Linked DNA regions of Homo sapiens: region 1 is linked to region 2. The links are contacts of gene promoters, found by promoter capture Hi-C in human tissues and cell types (Jung and others, 2019). All regions are on one chromosome and are shown on one strand. Each heading gives the region's core, a stretch centred on a gene start or on the middle of the fragment in contact. The rest is flanking DNA. Distances are from core to core; before and after follow the strand shown.

Evidence for each region. Contacts are between HindIII fragments. The study calls those that stand out against the background at their distance.
Region 1: a fragment that was not itself captured here is called in contact with the fragment with the promoter of NTN3 in region 2 in 1 of the 25 tissues and cell types used here (lymphoblastoid cells).

What each region holds. Positions count from the first base shown.
Region 1 is chr16:2,501,964-2,508,066 of GRCh38, forward strand. It overlaps TBC1D24 (TBC1 domain family member 24), which reads left to right. Exons shown (of 8, transcript NM_001199107.2): 8 at 1-3,767. Among named protein-coding and RNA genes, the nearest start is that of ATP6V0C, 8.9 kb to the right of the region's middle. RefSeq lists enhancers at 5,226-5,726, 5,727-6,103. The HindIII fragment of the contact is 3,777 bases long and covers 2,564-6,103 here.
Region 2 is chr16:2,467,240-2,473,401 of GRCh38, forward strand. It overlaps NTN3 (netrin 3), which reads left to right and starts at 4,058. Exons shown (of 6, transcript NM_006181.3): 1 at 4,058-5,390; 2 at 5,462-5,650; 3 at 5,746-5,895; 4 at 6,029-6,079. The coding sequence starts at 4,463. It overlaps TEDC2-AS1 (TEDC2 antisense RNA 1), which reads right to left and starts at 974. Exons shown (of 1, transcript NR_135198.1): 1 at 1-974. RefSeq lists silencers at 423-472, 533-872, 883-932, 4,196-4,335 and enhancers at 1,380-1,923, 1,883-2,022, 2,183-2,262. The HindIII fragment of the contact is 12,116 bases long and covers 1-6,162 here.

The DNA of each region.
Region 1 (6,103 bases), core at 3,202-5,701, 35 kb after region 2:
TCTTTGTGGCATGCTCATCTCAGTGCAGCCCCAACTGCTTCTCTGCACCAGGCCCCGTGCCCTCCCCTGGCCCTGGCCACACAGCACCTCCTTGGCCACCTTGCATGGATGCATGTCCTCCCTCTGTCCCTCTTGTGGTGCTGTGGCTGGCCACGTGTCAGGGTTTTCTGTGAGCCTCTCACCTTACAGCCTTTGGGCCCCTGGGCCCCTGCCCTGCCTGAGCCCTGCGCTGGCCAGACGCAGGTAGGTGCCAGGGGAGGCCTTGCCTCTGGGCACTATAGGGGGCAGCCCCCTGCCTTGTGACCTCCCTCCATGCCCCATGACCTCCTTCAACTCGTCTTGAGGGTCTGGTCACCACGGAGGGGAGAAGGGAGACACAGAGGCCCAAGTGGCTGTTCTGGGACCATGGAAGCCTGGGTCACAGAGGCAGGTACCAGCAGTCCTGCCCCCACCCCCGTCCCTGCTGGCCTCCAGCCAGTGCCACTTGGAGTCCCCTGCACCGTGCCACTTTCCATCCCCACACCATTGCCTGCTCCTCCCATGGGGCTTTAGCCTCCCCTGACCATCTGCTCATGTAGCCTCTGACTGGGCGCACAGTGGTGCAGGAGGAAGGACCGGGAACCCTGTGTGGCTTTGGGCAAGCTGACAAACCCGTCTGGAACTCAGTTTCCCCAGCTGTGAAATGGGGCCAGTCCCCATGCCCTGCTGTCCTCCTCACAGGACTGTTGAGAGGCTCGCAGGGGGATGGGGTGAATCCCTCTCACGGGGAGAGGTATGGGAGGGAAGTCGCCACTCATCTCAGCCCACCGCAGCCCTCCAGGCCCCCGCCTGAGCCCCTGAGGCCCTCATCTGTACCGCCAGCTTTGGTGTTCATTAAACATGGTCTTGCTGCATCAACTCCAGGGCTCCAAGCTGAGTCTGATCTCTTCAGCCAGAGGGGCCTCCGGGGGCTTCCTGGGCCTACAGCCAAGCAGGTGTGGGAGGCTGCCCGCTGTAGTGCTCACCCACATTCTATGACTGGAATGCTGCAAGCCTCTTCCAGAGGGAGCCCTCCAGGAGCAGGGAAGTCATATCCGTGGACCATTTGTAGGTTTCCCTCTGCAAACTTCCTGAACTGGGTGGTGATTTTTCTGGCGAGTTAAGTCCAGCAGGTTCTGCGTGGCTGCCCCCAGGGGGCCCCACCCGGGCCTTCCAGTGATCTGGACCAGGAAGACGGATTGCTGCTGGGTCATGATTTCCACATCATGAGCGAAGTTCTTTGTTTTTTGTGTGCATGCAAAATATTGTTTCTTTAAATTTAATATCTTTTCCTAACTTTTCTACTAACCTAGAAGGTATGTGTGATTATTATCTTTTTTATTCTTATCACTGTACTTGTTAGTATCTGATATTAGGTATTCCCAAATAGAACATAATTTATTTTGTTAATGTTCTCTATTTCTTCTTGATTATTTATTAGCTTTGGATGTTAAAAATTAGCCAAAAGTGGCTGCTCTGCCTATGAAGTAGCCATTCTTTGTTTAAAAAAAAAAAAAGCCAACATTTGTTGAAACTGCATAATAAATTATCATTTGTTTTTAGAAACATTCAAAGAATTATTTTTTGATTTTTTTTTTTTTTGGGACAGAGTCACCCAGGCTGGAGTGCAGTGGCATGATCTTGGCTCACTGCAACCTCCGCCTCCTGGGTTCAAGCGATTCTCCTGCCTCAGCCTCCTGAGTAGCTGGGATTACAGGCATACGCCACCACGCCCAGCTAAATTTTTTTTGTATTTTTAGTAGAGGCAGGGTTTCACTGTGTTGGTCAGGCTGGTCTTGAACTCCTGACCTCGTGATCCACCCCCCCCTCAGCCTCCCAAAGTGCTGGGATTACAGGCGTGAGCCACCGCGCCTAGCCTATTTTTTAATTTTTTTGAATAGACCACTTTGTGCTGAATAAATGTTTAACATTTATTTTTAAAACAACAATTGCACCTAATTTAAAATAGTTTATTAAATGAATTCATTAAAGCAGATTATATGCCTTTGGGGCTTCAGAAAATCAGTTTAAGCAAAAGAACTTATGAGAGTAAGTCATTTGTACTTGAATTTTTTCAGAGTTTTAATGAACTAAAGTATTTTAATTTTTCTATTTTTGTAAGCCGCATACTTCATTTTTTGAGTTTTTCAGTGGAATTTGTTTTAAAACGTTTTGAAGATTTCAGAGGCCTTCATATTTCTCTTATCCACTTTCTGAACCCATAAAGCCTTTGCAGTCTCCTTGAGTAGTTTATATTTAGTAATTTAGTTGTGTACCTTTTTATTTTGAAGTAATTTTTGATTTGCAGAAGAGTTGCAGAGACGGTACAGGGTTTCCATGTACCCTCACCTTCCCCCAAGTCAATATCAAAACAAAGAAATAAGCATTGTTGCATTGCTGTTAACTAAACCACAGGCCTATTGAGATTGTCCCTTTTTTTTTTTTTTTTTTTTTTGAGACAGAGTCTCGCTCTGTCGCCCAGGCTGGAGTGCAGTGGCGCGATCTCGGCTCACCGCAAGCCCCGCCTCCCGGATTCACGCCATTCTCCTGCCTCAGCCTCCTGAGTAGCTGGGACTACAGGCACCTGCTACCACACCCGGCTAATTTTTTTATATTTTTAGTAGAGATGGGGTTTCACCGTGTTAGCCAGGATGGTCTTGATCTCCTGACCTCGTGATCTGCCCTCCTCGGCCTCCCAAAGTGCTGGGATTACAGGCGTGAGCAACCGCGCCCAGCCGAGATTGCCCCGTTTTTTTCCCACTGTCCAGGAATCGATTTAATTTTTACAGTTGTTTACTTTCTCACATTTTTACTAAGTCCAGAATATCATCAAACTCACAAAACCACTGGTCAAAAAAACCCAAATGGCCACTAATTAGGCAATACAGCACCTGCCTCAAATTTGGGTTCATATAGATTTTTTTCCTCCCTTTTTGTGGAGAACATAGTCTTGCTGTGTTGCCCAGGCTAGTCTTGAACTCCTGGACTCAAGCAATCCTCCCGCCTCTGCCTCCCTAAATTCTGGGATTACAGGCGTGAGCTGCTGTGCCCAGCTCATCCAGATTCTTGCTGGTTCTCTTTCTCAGCCTAAATGTCTTGTTTGCGTGGAGAAATTATCAAATGAAGCAGGAGTGCCAAACAAGCCTCATAGGCTCTTCACCCTACAACATCTATGTTAGGTAGAAAAGTATGTGGATTTTTAAAAATCATCTGGTATAAAGAGTTTTTAAGAACTATCTTCATCATCTTAGTATCAGATTGTGCTTGAGAAGTTAGGTACAATGTAATGTGATTCATTGCTAAAAACAAAATGCCTCCCACAATTGCAGACTCACTCATTTTACCAAACTATGGAATTTGTCAACACCTTTTCTTGGGACCAAGGAAGCAAAGTCAGTGGATACCGTGTCCTGTAGACATGTCACTTGTGATAAGGCACGGACAACATGAACTGGCAAAAACATTGGCATTTGGTCAAATGCTTATGAGCTAAGGATAGAAGGGAAAAAATAGTTGTGTGAATGATTTTACCTCTTAGTTCTTACGAAGGATGGTTATCGGGCTGGAAAAATGTTTATTGGACTGATGCTTTGGAGCCTCTCAATGAATGTAATAAAAAAAATGTGTAGTGAGCACAAATGTATGGATTTGCAGCACAATCCAACTTTGAAAATGTGAAAATAAGTGAGTTAGTGATATGTTTGGTTGGTGTTAATTTGAGTCCTAAATAAAATCGAGAACTGGTAAAAGAAGGTCACTGTGAAATAACTTGCTATGAGAAGGCTTAGAGGGATGGGAAGTCCTGGACGCCTCTTCTCCAGGGTGTTGGAGGAGAGAGGGAGGCGCTAGGTTGACAAGACCGCATCTGCGCATTGTGGTCACCAGCGAGTCTCTCCACTGAGGCGACAGGTACATGTCTGTCGCATTTGCAGCCGTGGCCGGTGAGAACGGCAGCATTCCCTGATCCGTCTTGTTTTCTTTTGTTCCTAGTGCCTGCTGTGTGGACAGCTACACTCAGCAAAGTCTTAGGGAGACTTAGAGGAGTCACCATGAAGAATCAGTGTCAGACGTTTCATCAGGAATCCCTGTCAAGGCCGGGTGTGGTGGCTCACACCCGTAATCCCAAGACTTTAGGAGGCTGAGGTGGGTGGATTGTTTGAGGCCAGGAGTTTGAGAGCAGCCTGGGCAGCACAGGGAGACTCCATCTCCACAAAAAAATAGTGAAGAACCCCTGTCGTGTGTAAAACACGAGTATCAAAAAACAAACTCAACCTTTCTCATTCAAAATTTCAAAATGAGTATTTCCTTTGAAAGTTTGCGTCTCTCTCTCTCTCTCTCTCTCTCTCTCTCTCTATATATATATATATATATATATAATTTTTTTTTTTTTGAGATGGACTCTCACTCTGCCACCTAGGCTGGACTGCAGTGGTTCAATCTCGGCTCACTGCAAGCCCCACCTCCTGGGTTCACACCATTCTCCTGCCTCAGCCTCCCGAGTAGCTGGGACTACAGGCACCTGCCACCACGCCCGGCTAATTTTTTTGTATTTTTAGTAGAGACGGGGTTTCACCCTGTTAGCTAGGATGGAATTATCTCCTGACCTCGTGATCCACCCGCCTCGGCCTCGCAAAGTGCTGGGATTACAGGCGTGAGCCACCGCGCCTGGCCACGTCAATATTAATGAATGTCTTTTTTTTTGTTTGAGACGGAGTCTTGCTGTATCGCCCAGCCTGGAATGTGGTGGTGCGATCTTGGCTCACTGCAACTTCCAACTTCCAGGTTTGAGGTATCCTCCTGCCTCAGCCTCCTGAGTAGCTGGGATTACAGGCACCTGCCACCATGTCCGGCTAATTTTTGTATTTTCAGTAGAGACCGGATTTCACCATGTTGGCCGGGCTGGTCCCTAACTCCTGGCCTCAAGTTATCCGCCTGCCTCGGCCTCCCAAAGTGCTGGGATTATAGGGGTGAGCCACCGTGCCCGGCCACGTCTTTTTAGTACCTTGTGTTTAATTGTGGATCGGTATAATACAAAGAAAAATAGAATGCCTTTTTTCTTTTGAGCCCTGCACAGATGCCCCCTCCCTGTCCAGTTCCTCCAGTGAGACCGAGGCTGCTGGGGGCCCTCCCTGCAGCTGCTGTGGAGCCTCTGCCTGCCGTCACGTGAGCTGCCTCTGCCCACTCTATGCTCCTGGGTTCCTCTTCCCCAGACTGGCCACGGGGGTGGCCCCTTCCTGCCAAGCCCTCTTTCTTTGCTCCTCTGAACACCTTCCTTCAGTACCTTCAGGGGACTGTTGGGGCAGCACCTGTCCCGGGTCTGAGAGGCCTCCTGGTCTGCTAGCCTGGCAGGAAGCTTGGCCCCCAACACAGCCACAGGCTCTCTGGCACCAGGTTTCTTTCAGTTCCTCTGAACTGAAAGCCTCTGTTTCCCGGCCTTTGCGCGTGCTATTTGCCACTCCTCATGCCTGGGCCCTAGTGTCCCTCCCAGGATTTCCCTGAGCTCCCCGCTGAGGCCGGGTCCGCGTTCTAGCTTCACAGCACCTGAGACAGGTGTTGGCTGGTCTCCCCACCCCCTGTCCTAAAGACTGTCAGTCTCAAGGGGCAGGAGTGCCTAGCACTGCAGAATGAACTGAAGCCCCTGTGGGTTGGTGTGCGCTGCTGCTGTGCGTCCAGGGTGATCAGAGATTCTCCAGGTGTGCTCCTGGGGCCTGTGGTGGCGGGACACCCCCTTCCCACACCCGCCACGCTCCCTGCAGTAACTCTTGCACTTACTGTAAGTGCTCGGACTGTCTTGTGCTTGACATTAGGACACACACTCAGGCCAGAATTGGGCAAGATTGTCCCTGAGCGGGGCGTGCAGAGCGCTCTGGCCTGGGAGGTGGGGCGCAGGGCTGCTTCCTCCTGCAGGCCAGCTCACTGTGGGGCTGGTGTCTGCCCAGAGCTTGGCCAGGCAGTGCCGCCCCCTCCCTTCCTGCCGCCTCTACCAGCAGCCTTCCCTCAGGCTGCTTTCCGGGCCTAGTCTGTGGCAGGTGTCCAGGGCACAGTCTTCCCTCTAGCCTGCCATGAAACTGTTTCATTTTTCTTT
Region 2 (6,162 bases), core at 2,808-5,307:
TGCTGCCTCCAGGCTTATGCCCAGGTGCCTCTATCTGCAGGAGCCACTGACTCATTTGAAACCCCCAACCACGCTGCGACCGTACACCCCCGTGGCTTTCCAGAGCAGGTGGTCTCTACCTGACGTTATTTCACTGGCTGACTTGGCTCATGGCTCATCCCCCATGCCTACTGGATGTCTGCCTCAGGAGGACAGGGGTGCTATCCCCCCTACCCCGGCCAGGCCCTGATGGGAGCCAGATGTGCACTGACTCAATGATCCACCAATCCCGGGGGCCAACCCAGAGGACAGTGGTGTCCTGGAGCAGGGAGGCGGCCTAGATAGCTTTGTGGGGGTCCTGAGGAGGCCCCAACACAGGAGTCCAGGGCGGGAAAGACAAGCCGCCTCCTCGGACTAACGCCCGCCCACCCCGATTCCCCGCCAAAACCCAGAGGTAGCAGCTGACTCCTCGGGCTCCCGGCTGGCGTCACCGCCTCTGGAGCCAATGGGCTCTGACGTGGCGAGCCTGGAACGCCACTGGGACTGCGCGGGCGTCCACACCACCCACCGAGCGCGGCCACCGCGTTGGCGGCATGAGCGCGCTCGAGCCTCCCCCAGCGGCGCCCGCCTCGCCCCCCGGGCCGGGTCTGGCGCACCCGGAACCCCCCGGGGCCCTGCGCGCCCTGCTCTTGGCCACCGGCGGCGCTGGGGGCTCGTGGCCTCGCTGCATTCTGCCGTTCGGTGCCGTGGCCGTGCTGGCTGGTGCGGCTGCCACGGCCATCACCTTCTCGCTGCGGGGACCCCGCCTGGACCTGGCCCAGGGCTCGTCGCTGGCCGCGCTCAGTGCGGGCCTGGGGCTTCTGACCGCCGCCTTCCTGTGCTGGCGCGCTCGGCGGAGGCGAAGGGCCGGGCGCAGGGAGCCGGGGGCGCCCTGAGCCGCGGGCGAGGCCCCCTCCCATCGAGGTCACCGCGAGCCGGCCGCCCCTCCCTCCAACCTCGCCCCGGCCGGGCGGGCGCAGTGCCAAGCGTGGTCGCAGAGGCCGCCCCCCACACCCCATCCCCAAATCGTTTCTTCTGGAACCCTTTGGGCAGAGAAGGCCACCGGCCGTTTCCCTCCCTCCCTCTCTGCTTTCCCTCTCTTCCCTCCTCCGTCCAACGTCGCATTTCAGCTTTTGACTTGGCGCGCAGAGCTGGCGCGACCGCAGAGCGGCCTGGCTGGGCAGCGGTCTGCGAGGCTGGGGGATCGACCCGGCGCGAGGGTGCTGGGTGCAGGGCAGCGCGACGCGGGCTCGGCCACACCACCCGCCGTTGGGAGCCGGCGCTGTGTCTGCTCCTGGGCTGTCTGCCTTCGGAGCTCGGTTGGAAACCCCCCGAGGCATAATAGGCGCTCGATAAATGTGCAATAGGTGAACATGTGGTGGCTTGCAGGCGTCTGGGGGGAGACAGCAGGTTCTGGGCTGGGCAGGGAATTATTGGATCAACGGGCATCTTACAGGAAAGACTCTCAGCTCCCTGCCGCCTAGGACTGTCCAGCCCATCTATGCCCTCTCCCCAGCCTGTGCCCCAAAGCTGGAGCTGCCACTCTAGGGGTGAGGGGTGGGGTGGGGAGGGGGAGGCGAAGCACTGCGGCCTGAGTTGCAGGTGGGGGGAGGGGAGGCGGAGCTTCTTTGTTGCAGAAGGTGCCAGGAGGGGGCAGGGCCAGTGGAGAGGTGGGAGGTGGGAGAGGCCCCAGCCAGGGGCTGGGACAGGTGGCTGGGTCCCTGGGGAGCAATAAGTCCCGCTTGGGCGCTGTGGGGAGGCCCTTCCTAACTCCCAAACACCATCTGTGAGGGCTGGGGGTGGGGGCAGAGTAGCGTGTGCAGAGGACTGTTCCTGGGGAGAGGCCCTGTGACCAGCGGCCTCCTCCCTGGGGAGCTGGCGGTACAATGGCCCTCTGGGCCCACGGCCTCCCGCCGCTGCTGCTGACCCAGATGAACAATTGGGGCAGGGCTGAGCCCCAGGCACCTACTTTCCCCCACCCCAGAAGCCACCAGACGTTCTGCAGACCCCAGTCCTGGCTCACAGGGAAGCTGAGCTGGAGACAAAGCCAGCCCCTCTGATGAGGGTGGAAGAGGCTGCTGGCCACTGTCCCTCTTGCAGCCTGGCTGGCAGCCAGTCTGGCAGTGGCCCTGACGTCCAGAGACAGCTTGGGTTTCCCCAGAGGCTTGTCTCTGGCCAGTGGGACCCCTCTGTCAGGCCTGGGCTTTTCTCTCCACTGTCCCAGAATGATGATCTCAGCCCCCATAGTCCCCCCAGGGTTCCTCCCACCCTTAGGGTGGGGTGTCGGGGGGTGGGGGTTGGGAGCCAGAAGGACCTTGAAGAGGGTGGTTGGGACGTTTCAGGTTCTAAGCTTGACCCACAGAGCGGAGCGTGAGCCCCGTCAGGTTGAGGTCCCTCAACTTGTAAAGGACACAATTCCCATTCTCTTTATCAGGAAGCTGAGGGGCAGGGGCCCTGTGGCAGAGAGAGAGCCCCTTAGCCCTCTCTGTTCAGTCCTCCGGTGCCCCCATCCCTGTGCATCTGTGGCTGTCACATGCAGATGTGTGGCAAGGAGAAGGTGCCCACCAGCCAGTGTCAGTTGCTCCAGGAGCCAAGCCAGGTGCCCTATCACCCTGTCTTCCCGTTCCTCCCCTCCATGGTCAGGCCCTCCTGCTCCCTCCTCTGGTCCTTCAGTTTCCCCTAGGAGGCTTCCGTGTCCTCCTGCCCCTCCTCTCCCCAACAGCGGGATGCGTCTACCTCTCCATTCTCTTCCTCCTGGTCCTTGCTCATCTCTGGTCGTGTCCAGGGTAGCACCCACGTGGCCTCCTCCACCAGCTGCAGGCCTGGCCTCCCATCTGAAACGGGGCATTCAGGCCTCGATGCTGGCCCTGCACGGAACTTGTTCCCTGCCCCTCCCTGGGATGCTTGGCCTCCTCTGTCAAGGACCTGAAAGTCGGAGGGGAGGAGGTTTCTCTGACCAGAGCTGTTCCTGGACCCTCTTTGGTGGTGTCGCTCCCAGGCACAGCTACCCCATCCCCAGCTAGTCCCCAGGCCACCCAGCTGGGCTTCTGCCTCAGTTTCCCTGCCCAAACGTGCTGTGACGTAGGGCAGTGGGCTCCGGGTTGCGACCAGCCCCTTCCCATGATTAAACCCTACTCCCTGCCCCTGCAGAGGGGTCCTCAACAGCTAACCAAGCCCCCGAACCCCAAGAAGCCACCCCATCCCACCCTCCAGCTTCCATGTCCTCCCTGCCAGCTGGGCCCGTGGCAGAGGTGCCCCTAGAAACTTGCAGACCCAGGGAGCTTTGGGATCAGAATCTGGCCTGGTGCAGGGGATGCTGGCCTCATGTCTTAGCCCAGCTCAGGCCCATGGGGGTGCCCCCCTTCCTCAACATGGGCAGGAGACACTCCAATTTGTGCAGCTCTCGACTTGGGCCTGATGCCACTTGAGACTCATCAAATCCAACAGCTTCAGAGCGCGTGCTGAGTAACAGGCATCTGGCAGGTGAGGAAACAGGAGCCCAAGACATGCAGCCAGAAATGGGGCAGTTGGATTCAAAATTAGACCTGACCGAATCCTGGGTTCCTTCTACTCGAGTAGATGCTGCTTTGGGGATGACCCTTCAACTGGTGGTTACTTGGCTTCCCTACCTGGGGAACATCCAGGGCCTCTGCTGTCAGACCCGGGGCCTTGCCTGCCTGATGGTCTTCAGGGAGGAGGCGACCCAGACCCCCGTCCAGCACGTGGCACAGCCCCAGGAGCAGTAAAGACCTGGCTGTGGGCCCAGGACCCTGCTGGGTGGTCCCCCACGGGCTGCGAAGGCTGAGCTGCCCCCCTCCAGACCCCTCCCGCCAGCGCATTCCTGGCTCCCCGGCCCCTCCCCTGGCTCCCGGGCCTCCCAGCCCCCTTCCCCGCTGGCCCAGCCCGCGTCTGAATCTGCTTCTGATTCCAGCTCTGCGATGAGGCCCCCTCCCCTCCCCTGCCTCCTTCCCGACCCGAGCAGCCCCGCCCCCGGCTGGGCCCGGGCTTGCGCCTGCTGCGCCCCCCACCCCCTCCTGGCACAGCTCGTCCGCCCTCGCTGCAGCCGGGAGGAGGCGGCGGCCCGTGCACCGCAGGCCCCGCCCGCCCACGGCCCTTCCCGGGAGGCCGGGAGACCTGCTCCGCCCGGCCCTCGGTGGGTGAGTGCGAGCGGCGGGTGGGGCCTCCGCGGGCGGAGGCACCGGGAGCGGGGGCGACGCCTGTCATCGCTCTAGGCCCAGCGGGAGGACGCGCCAACATCCCCGCTGCTGTGCTGGGCCCGGGGCGTGCCCGCCGCTGCTCCCACCTCTGGGCCGGGCTGGGGCCGCCCGGGGGCCCTGTTCCTCGGCATTGCGGGCCTGGTGGGCAGAGCCGCGGAGAGGGCTTCTTTTCCCCAAGGGCAGCGTCTTGGGGCCCGGCCACTGGCTGACCCGCAGCGGCTCCGGCCATGCCTGGCTGGCCCTGGGGGCTGCTGCTGACGGCAGGCACGCTCTTCGCCGCCCTGAGTCCTGGGCCGCCGGCGCCCGCCGACCCCTGCCACGATGAGGGGGGTGCGCCCCGCGGCTGCGTGCCAGGACTGGTGAACGCCGCCCTGGGCCGCGAGGTGCTGGCTTCCAGCACGTGCGGGCGGCCGGCCACTCGGGCCTGCGACGCCTCCGACCCGCGACGGGCACACTCCCCCGCCCTCCTTACTTCCCCAGGGGGCACGGCCAGCCCTCTGTGCTGGCGCTCGGAGTCCCTGCCTCGGGCGCCCCTCAACGTGACTCTCACGGTGCCCCTGGGCAAGGCTTTTGAGCTGGTCTTCGTGAGCCTGCGCTTCTGCTCAGCTCCCCCAGCCTCCGTGGCCCTGCTCAAGTCTCAGGACCATGGCCGCAGCTGGGCCCCGCTGGGCTTCTTCTCCTCCCACTGTGACCTGGACTATGGCCGTCTGCCTGCCCCTGCCAATGGCCCAGCTGGCCCAGGGCCTGAGGCCCTGTGCTTCCCCGCACCCCTGGCCCAGCCTGATGGCAGCGGCCTTCTGGCCTTCAGCATGCAGGACAGCAGCCCCCCAGGCCTGGACCTGGACAGCAGCCCAGTGCTCCAAGACTGGGTGACCGCCACCGACGTCCGTGTAGTGCTCACAAGGCCTAGCACGGCAGGTGACCCCAGGGACATGGAGGCCGTCGTCCCTTACTCCTACGCAGCCACCGACCTCCAGGTGGGCGGGCGCTGCAAGTGCAATGGACATGCCTCACGGTGCCTGCTGGACACACAGGGCCACCTGATCTGCGACTGTCGGCATGGCACCGAGGGCCCTGACTGCGGCCGCTGCAAGCCCTTCTACTGCGACAGGCCATGGCAGCGGGCCACTGCCCGGGAATCCCACGCCTGCCTCGGTGAGGCCTTGGAGGGTGGCCTGGGGACCTTGGACACAACCAGCCTGCCCCTGACCCATCCCTCCCTGCAGCTTGCTCCTGCAACGGCCATGCCCGCCGCTGCCGCTTCAACATGGAGCTGTACCGACTGTCCGGCCGCCGCAGCGGGGGTGTCTGTCTCAACTGCCGGCACAACACCGCCGGCCGCCACTGCCACTACTGCCGGGAGGGCTTCTATCGAGACCCTGGCCGTGCCCTGAGTGACCGTCGGGCTTGCAGGGGTGAGCCACCACCGGCCACCTGCAGGCCCTCACCCTCTGACTTCCCAGATCCCCAGACAGGCTTCTGACCAGGCCCTTCCCACCTCTGTCCTCAGCCTGCGACTGTCACCCGGTTGGTGCTGCTGGCAAGACCTGCAACCAGACCACAGGCCAGTGTCCCTGCAAGGATGGCGTCACTGGCCTCACCTGCAACCGCTGCGCGCCTGGCTTCCAGCAAAGCCGCTCCCCAGTGGCGCCCTGTGTTAGTGAGTGACCCTGCCCCGCCTCAGCCACCAAGCCAAGGCCACCCCAGCTCCCTGCTGTTGTCCCGTCTATTCCCCGAGCCCTGCAGATCTCTCTGCCCCTCCATCGCAGGCCATTCTCCCTCCCTCTCTGCAGAGACCCCTATCCCTGGACCCACTGAGGACAGCAGCCCTGTGCAGCCCCAGGGTGAGTGGACACAGGACAGGGCCCCAGACTGGCATGACTTTGGGGGAGGGGGCTCTGGGAGGAGAGGGTGGGGAAAGGGAGTC